Linked DNA regions of Homo sapiens: region 2 is linked to region 1. The links are contacts of gene promoters, found by promoter capture Hi-C in blood cells and fetal thymus (Javierre and others, 2016). All regions are on one chromosome and are shown on one strand. Each heading gives the region's core, a stretch centred on a gene start or on the middle of the fragment in contact. The rest is flanking DNA. Distances are from core to core; before and after follow the strand shown.

Region 1 (4,063 bases), core at 1,268-3,767:
ACAGGCACGTGCCATCATGCTTGGCTGATTTTTAAAAAATATTTATTTATTTATTTTTAGTAGAGATGAGGCCTTGCTATGTTGCCCCAGCTGGTCTTGGACTCCAGGGCTCAAGTGATCTATCTACTCACCTCAGCCTCCCAAAATGCTGGGATTACAAGCGTGAGCCACTGCGCCCAGTCTGAAGTTTCTTTGAAAGCAAAAAAGGAAACAAAAAGAGTACATAGGCCCAAATGAAGACAGCTGAAAGTTTAATGTACCTCAAATTCCAGCCCATGACTAAGGGATGGACTTTGAGTCTCTTTTCGAATCCATCTCAAGGATTTAGGTTTAGAGTTTGTGCTCCTTTAAACAGACTAAGAGCCTCTGTGACAAAGTAAATAGAGAAAATAAGTGTAGTCAAGCTCTGGCAGGATTTGGAAGGGGGCCTAACGTGGAAGAAAGGAGAAGGCTGGAATTGACTAAGATGTGCTATGCACTGGGCTGGATTTGTTCTCAGCAGAAAGCAAGAAAGAGCTCTGGGATGGTAGCAGGGCTCCCACTACCACCGGGGGCCAAAGGTTGCAGTATTTCTCAGGTAGCCAAGAGGCACCCATGAGCCCAGCCCCTGCCCACTCCCTGATGTCATCTAGACACAAGGACATGGGGCATGAGAGGACATCATTGTCACTTCTCTGCAGAGTCACAGGAACGTGCCCTCTGCTCCTCCGCCTCTCGGCTGTCCTTCTGCCCACGGCTGGCCCAGACTCTCATGGCGACTCACTGTCTCCCACGCCCCCACTCCCGGCAGGAAACCACTTCAGGGTTTACTGTGGGCTCCGAAATCAGCCTGTGAGTCCTAGTTAGGGTCCCCTGTGCCTGACTCTCCTCTCCCCAGGCTGCAAGAAATAGGGATGACCAGAAGTCAAACTGTGCCCTTGGGAACACCCCACCCCTCACCACTGTCGTGCCAGGAGTCTGTTCCTAAGACCCCTCCCCAAGTCCTGTCTCCTCCTCTTCCTCCCATAAACCACAGCAGACACTCAGCCACCAGGCTGCAGCCCTGCACCTTCTCCAGCAGCCGCTGGCCTTCGCCAGAGTTCTTGAAAGCCCAGTTGTCCTTCCCCAGCCACGTGGAGGCAGACGGATCTCTCCTGGGGGCAGCCTGTAGCTGTCTGTGCAAAGGTTCCCAAGACTAAAGTGTAGAGGACAGGTAAGATGACACTGTCATGATCATCATTCGTCCTGTGCCCTGTGGACATCAACCCACAGATGTGACATCAACCCATCTGATATTGAGCCCAGTGGGTGGGGAGATCCTAACCCAGCTGCTGCTGTTGAGGACTTGGGTGGTGTCTGGCCAGTGGGAGGGGAGGTCAGGCGAGTTTTCAGCAGATGACCCCGTGCTCTTCGGAAGCCCGGAGGTGCCACACTGTACAAGTGTGATGCCTGGGATCCTGTGCTCCCCTGATGCCTGGGAATGGGGTGAAGGAACAGCCTAGGCTTGGGTTCTCTCCTGGGTTGTTTCGGGACTTGGCCCCAGCTCAGGAAGGGTTTGTGGAGGAGCCAAGGAGGGCCTTGTTCCTGTGGGATGTCTTTGCCTTGGGCACAAGGACAGCCTCTTGCTGCTGCTCTGCCCACCGCCCACCCCTTGGCGGCCTCTGGGAGTCTGGGCTGCTCTCCCTCTGGACCTAACCAGTTGCCCAATGGCTGGACCTGCTTAAAGCTCCCTCTTACAACTGGACCAGGCAGCCAGGGGAGGCACTGAGAGGCCGAGCTTCTGAGCTGGTGCCTGTGGATGCTCGACGGTCCCGCAGCTCCCACAATGGGATGGCCAAGCAGACCCTGAGATCCACAGCCCCCCTTTAGTGAAACAGGAGGGAGGTCGCTGGGCACAGGGAGCCGGGAACGCCTGCCCTCCCCGCCATCGACGGCTCCCGAGGCCTGAACCTTCGCTCCAGCCCCAGCACAAGCCGGCCAGGGCGCAGGGCCAAGTGTTGCCCGCCATTCCCCGGGTACCCCATGACCTCCCAGCTGGGGCTGGCTCGGACTGAGGAGTCGTCCCTGCCCGTCACCCTCTGGGGTCTCCAGTGCTGCGGAGCTCAGCTGGCTTTTGCAGCGGTAGGGGCTGGGAGGAGAAGCTGCAGGGAGACCGCAGGCGTGGGACGTTGTGGGGGGTCAGGCTTGCTCTGGGGCTGGGACCCCGGGGGGAGCAGTGGGGTTGACGCCACAGCGATGACTTGGGCCACGGGTCTGGGGGCTCTCCCGCGGGGCGATTGGGCTCTGTCTTTCGGGATTAGGGTCTCTCCCACAGGGTTTGGGGTTCTCTCTGCAGATTTGGGGGAGTCTCTCCCGCGGGATGAGGGGGGGCTCTCCGCCGCACCCGCCTATGATGGCCCAGAGGACCCGAGCTCGGGTCACTCCCGTCGCCCTCGGGGCTCGGCGAGGGTGCAGGAGGCGGGCGCTGAGCCGGTGACGCGACTCCGGGCGGCTCCCGGGTGCGCCGCATATATAGCAGCGGCGGCGGTGGCGGCGGCCACACCGGGCGGCGGACACGTGGAGGGACCCGGCCCGCGCCTTCTGCCCCTGCTGCCGGCCGCGCCATGCGGTGAGCGCCCCAGGCCGCCAGAGCCCACCCGACCCGGCCCGACGCCCGGACCTGCCGCCCAGACCCGCCACCGCACCCGGACCCCGACGCTCCGAACCCGGGCGCAGCCGCAGCTCAAGGTACTACTGGCGCCGGGCCGACCCTGCGCCCCCGGGAGGCCTCCCCTTCGGCTTTCCTCTGCCCAGGGACGGTTCTGCCAGGGCCCTGGCCCGGCCGCCGCCTCTGCTCCTCCCCGCAGCCCCGGCACTCCTTGCCTCGGGGCGCAGCCCACTCCGGGTTCCGACCCGCCCGCCCTGTCCTTCCCTTCCAGATGGCCCGAGGCAGCGCCCTCCTGCTCGCCTCCCTCCTCCTCGCCGCGGCCCTTTCTGCCTCTGCGGGGCTCTGGTCGCCGGTAAGTGCGGGGCGCGTCTCCTCCGAGCGAAGGGGACATCAGAGCCGGCCGGGCGTGGAGGGCTTCCTGGAGGAGGCAGCCTCCGCCCTGCCCGCGGGGATGGGGGTGGAAAGTGGAAAGGCGGGCGCTGTCCTGGCTGCGGGCGTCGCGGGAAGGGTCCGGGGCTCCCTGGGATTCCCCCCGCGCGCTTCTCCGAGTGTATCAACAGCCCCGGGCTATAACCAGGCCGCCGGGAGAGCTCTGCGCTTCGGGTCAGCGCCTCGGGAAAGCGAGAAGCTCGCCCGTTCCGCAGGGCTTAGTTAGAATGGAGGGCTAGGAGCCACTGGCGTGGCCTCAGCGTCACTAAAGCAGGTGCAGTGCGCTGAGAGTGCGCGGGCTCAGGCCCTCAAGTGAAGTATTTCGTAAATAAAGTGGTTCCATTTTCATGTCAAATATAGCCGACTTAGGGGTAAACCTGGAATTTCGCGAGCTATCCAAAAGCACATGCATTGTTCTAAGTCCTCTGCCATGCCGGGAAAGCCTGGGTGCACCCATTCAGCATAGGCTCCAGGCACAGCCCTGGCATCTGATCCCCTTTTCTCCCTTCAAGGCCAAGGAAAAACGAGGCTGGACCCTGAACAGCGCGGGCTACCTGCTGGGCCCACGTAAGTGACTGACAGCATGGCCTCCCCACTCCTGACCCCACCTGCCCCTCGCTTTGAACCCTGGCTCCTGCCCCTCCGCCTGCGGCTGGGCAGACCCTCTGGCCTCCCTCTTGACCTCATTGCCCGTCTCCATTGCTCTGCACACTTGATCTGTGTACGGTTCTTTCCAGAAGCTTCTCCTGCCCCGGCTCTGCCGCCCTGTCCCGGGGTGAGATTCCCACCCTGGGCTTTGCTCAAGTTCTCCTGGGCTTTCCCGCCTTGCAGTCCTTACAGGCCCTGTTCTGGGCCTCTCCCCAGGCCCCCGGGTCTCCCAAAACACTCAACTCCTCGGCTTGCAGAGCACCCTAGGTCAGCGGACCCCAAATCCTGCCTCCCTCTTCCCTTTCTCCAAGCTCCACACGGGAATTGCCAGATCGCCTGAAGGCAGCCCAGACAGGCTCC
Region 2 (4,041 bases), core at 503-3,002, 970 kb after region 1:
CTGTTCTGCGCTTGGCCCACCGCCTCGGTCCACAGGAACCTTCATCTCTGCTCTGACTGTAAGGATGGGCTCTCTGAGGGCTTCCCCACCCCACAGCAGGCAGGTGGTTCTGGGAGTCTGGGATTGTCATGCCTGGGCACCTTCCTGCTCTGGCTGAGCCCCTCCAGGACGGAAATCTCCCAGATTTCTCTCTGCCTCCGTCTCCCCACCCTGGCATACAGTGGGTCCTAGGAAGGGGGCCGAATGGAAGGGAGGTCGTGTCGGCTCCTACAGGGCAGCCCCAAGCTGCTGGGCTGAGGTGCAGAGCCATGGGTCCAGCCTGACCCGCATGCCGGGAGCTGATTCCATGGCTGGAAGGGTCGGGGGTTCCCCAGGAGCCCAGACAGCACCTAGAGTTGTCACAAGGAGTGAAAGGCCCTGAGGGGACAGAGGAAGGAGGCTGGGCAGAGTGGGCACGTGGACTTCGGACCGCGCTTGTGGGATAACAGTGGCTAGGGCTGTGCAGAGGGTGGTGCACTGCCCATGGGAGTCCAGAGAAGCCAGGTCCAGTGGCAGTGGCATGCATCCGGCAATCCCTCCGGCTACCCTGCATGCAGCGTGACCCTCCTTGAAGCACCCCAGGAAGCAGTCACAGCCTCGCTCTGCCCAGCATTGGGGGCCTGGCCTCTGAATCTGGTGGGGAAGGCTGTGTTGCCTGCTGGCACCCGCTCTATCACCAGTCCCACCATAAGGCTAGTCCCCAAAGTCAGCACTGCAGCCAGGGCCAGCGAGGGCCAGCAAGGGCAGGCCTGTGCAGGGGCTGCAGCGTGGGGTGTGCGTCCCGCACTCTGGGCCAGCCTCGCAGCTCACAGGGCTCTGTCATCCCAGGAATGTCTTTGATCAAGAGTTTATGCAAGACGAGGAAAGCAAGCCCAGGACCTCTAATCCGTTCCCACAGTCCCCTGCCCGCCAGGGCCCCACAAGCCCAGCGCCACACCGCCAGGCCTGAGCAGACAATAGCAGGCGGACGGGTGGGCGGGCAGCTCTGGGGCCGCTGGCCTTGGGGCCCACATCCGGGAGCATTGTCACCGCCACTCACGAGGGCACACAAGGAGGGCTGGGGAAGAGAGAATGCAGAGCCCTCTGCTGAAGGGGCTTCGGTGGGCCTTGAGCCTTTCAAAGACGGCGGTGTCCATTAATCCTTTTAATTTGCACCTAGCGGCAGCTGAGACAAGCCTCTCAACCGGCAGCCACTTTAAGAGCTGAGTGGTCTAACCCGAGGATCAGCTCCTATTCCAGACCCTGGGCCCTCTGAGCCTGTCGAGGCAGTCCTCCTTGCCTTTGTTTAATCACGGGAGGAATCGCAGCTGGAGGTTACTGAGCACGCACTGTGTGCCTTGTGCTCAACACCGAACACAGTTTCTCTCTGAGTTTTGCAACGACCCCATGGGTTGGTGACAGGGAGGGGACACTCTGGTGGCAGCCACAGACACAGCCCTGCCCTCCCAGAGCCTACACTCTCCCGCACACAATCATCCCATCTGCTAGGTCAGGGATTGGCAGGTTTTCTGGAAAGGGCCACAGAGAGAGGCTTCAGGCTTTGTGGGCCACAGGTTCTCTTGCCCTGTGCAAAAGCAGCTGCAGCCGCTCTGTGAATGAGTGAGCATGGCTGTGTGCCAATAAAGCTTTATTTACAAAAATAGGCAGCAGACTGGATTCAGGCTGAGGGTGGTAGTTTGCCGACCCCTGTTGTAGATGAGTAAACCGAGGCCCAGAGAGGTAAAGTAACTGAGCCAGGACTGCACAGCTAGTGTGTGACCAAGCCAGCCTGGTGGGTCAGCCTCATGGAGAAGAAAAGGCTCAAGCTTCAAAAAGGGAAATGCACGGAGGCTTCATTGGGCCATTTGCAGCCAGGCCCCACGCACACAGCTCAGGGCCCTGCTTCGCCAGCTCCACCTGTTTCGAGGCTCCCAGTAGGTTGCCCCTGCGGGCGGCACTGTGTCTTGGCTGCTGGCCTGGAGAAGGGCAGCCAAACAGGCCGGCAGTGGACATCTGAGGGTGACCAGCTGTTTAAAAAGAAAACTCACCGGCATGTATAGGCACACATTAAGCACACACGTTTTGGAGTAAAAGGCCCTGGGGTTGGATCTCGGATCTGCAGCTTTCCAGCTGTGCGGCCTCATTTCTCTGGGCCTCAATGTTCACACCTATAACATGGGGAAATCCTGCAAGAACACAGCCCATGATGGGGAGTCGTCTCCATCTCCTACTCACGACAACGACCAGCACAGAACGGGGGCTCCATAAATCTCTGTCAATAACTGAATTCTTTCTGGGGTGCTGAGGATTCTATGGCTCAATGTGTGTGAAGCACTGCTGAGCACCGAGCTTGGGGTGCAGTGATCACTCAGGGAACGCCATCATCCCCTCGGCGCATCCGCATAATCACCATCAGCATTCCATGCACTGCCCAGGTCTGGAAGCACAGGCCTCCATGCCACGGCGGCCGCCTGGGTGGTGGCACCAAAGCCGATCTTACTTCCCTCCTTTGGCACATTAAGTAGACAGTTCTGGGTCTTCTTGACACCACGGATGCCCCCTCCTGGTGTTGACAGCACCCAGACTTTGCTCCAGGGAACCACCATTCCCAGATCTGTGGTTTGAGTGGGACCGAACCCATCCCCAGCTCCAGGCCAGGTCTTCATAGGCTGAAACCCAACTGCACATCCACACCCACCAGAAGAGCAGCAAGTTAATGGATGGGTGAGAAATCAAATAGAGCCATTGAGTCTTGAGGAGACATTTTCTGGAGCTTCTGAAAAAGATAATGCTTCCCCCTTCCTTAGGATTCCCAGCAGGGAAACACAAGCCCAGGGGTGGCACTGCCCCCCTGCAGCCCTAAGGGAAGACTGAGCTGCTCCCAGGACCTCACAGGGGAGGCTGAGCGTAAGGCCAGCCCTGAGGGAAAGCAGGGAATGGGTCTCCAGACAAACTGCTGGATCAAGCCTCTCCTGAAGTCATCCCCCTTTTGTTCCAGAAGCCAATCATTGTCCTTCATTAAGTCAGTTTGATATGGGCACTGTGTCATTTGGTTTTCAAAGACACTTAACTATTACAGCTTGTGTGTGTTTTCTTTTTTTTTTTTTGAGACGGAGTCTCACTCTCGCCCAGGCTGGAGTGCAGTGGCCTGCTCTCGGCTCACTGCAAGCTCTGCCTCCCGGATTCACGCCATTCTCCTGCCTCAGCCTCTCGAGTAGCTGGGACTACAGGCGCCCGCTACCACGCCCAGCTAATTATTTGTATTTTAGTAGAGACCGGGTTTCACCGTGTTAGCCAGGATGGTCTCGATCTCCTGACCTCGTGATCCACCCGCCTCGGCGTCCCAAAGTGCTAGGATTACAGGCGTGAGCCACCGCACCCGGCCGCTTGTGTGTGTTTTCTACCTCTTCTAGATCTAACATGTTATGATTGATATAAACAACAGGAGCGACTGACAAAGTTACCATGTGATCTTGGAATTTCAACATGCCTGTCTTGCTTAGCTGGGAGTTCCACAGGGTCAGGGAATGACTCCTCTTGGGGCCACCAGTGCCCAGAAGTATGCCTAGAACTGCTCTGTCTGAAGGGACAGGTCCCTCTTCCATGGCACACACTCTGTGTGTAACAGAGCACACGTGTGACCAAACTGACCTGGAGAAAGGGCCTGACCACATCCATATCCCAAGTTCTGAGGCCGGATAGTGCCTGCAGGGGCTGAGACCAGGGGAGAGGCTCAAGCCAGCCTTCTCTGGTGGACCCTGACTCAGTCCTCTGTGCAGGGCAGCTGCGCCTCCCAGAAGGCAGAGGCCTCTTGGAGAGTGAGCCTTGCGGTCACAGCGCCTTTCGGGGGCTCCCGCCACTTGCCCTCAGTGGCGGCTGAGACCTGGGGGAGTCCAGGCAAATCCCTGAGGAGGCCCCACATGCAAGGCCAGAAGTGTCTGGATGGTGTGGCCGGCACCCTTACCCTCCAGACCAGCAAACGAAGCCCAGGCAGGGAGAGGGGCCTTGTAGTTTTCTGTGGCT

The links. The method cuts DNA at HindIII sites, captures the fragments that hold promoters and counts their contacts. A CHiCAGO score of 5 or more calls a contact.
Region 2: a fragment that was not itself captured here is called in contact with the fragment with the promoter of GAL in region 1 in 1 of 17 cell types (total CD4 T cells); the score reaches 5.1 in total CD4 T cells.

What each region holds. Positions count from the first base shown.
Region 1 is chr11:68,682,027-68,686,089 of GRCh38, forward strand. It overlaps GAL (galanin and GMAP prepropeptide), which reads left to right and starts at 2,518. Exons shown (of 6, transcript NM_015973.5): 1 at 2,518-2,706; 2 at 2,898-2,978; 3 at 3,568-3,622. The coding sequence starts at 2,898. The region is part of intron 2 of LOC107984343 (a long non-coding RNA gene); the gene reads right to left. RefSeq lists enhancers at 1,237-1,912, 2,589-3,264. The HindIII fragment of the contact is 13,008 bases long and covers 1-3,793 here.
Region 2 is chr11:69,657,324-69,661,364 of GRCh38, forward strand. It overlaps LOC124902704, which reads right to left and starts at 592. Exons shown (of 1, transcript XM_047427985.1): 1 at 1-592. The coding sequence starts at 592. RefSeq lists enhancers at 424-1,151, 3,531-4,031, 4,032-4,041. The HindIII fragment of the contact is 180 bases long and covers 1,663-1,842 here.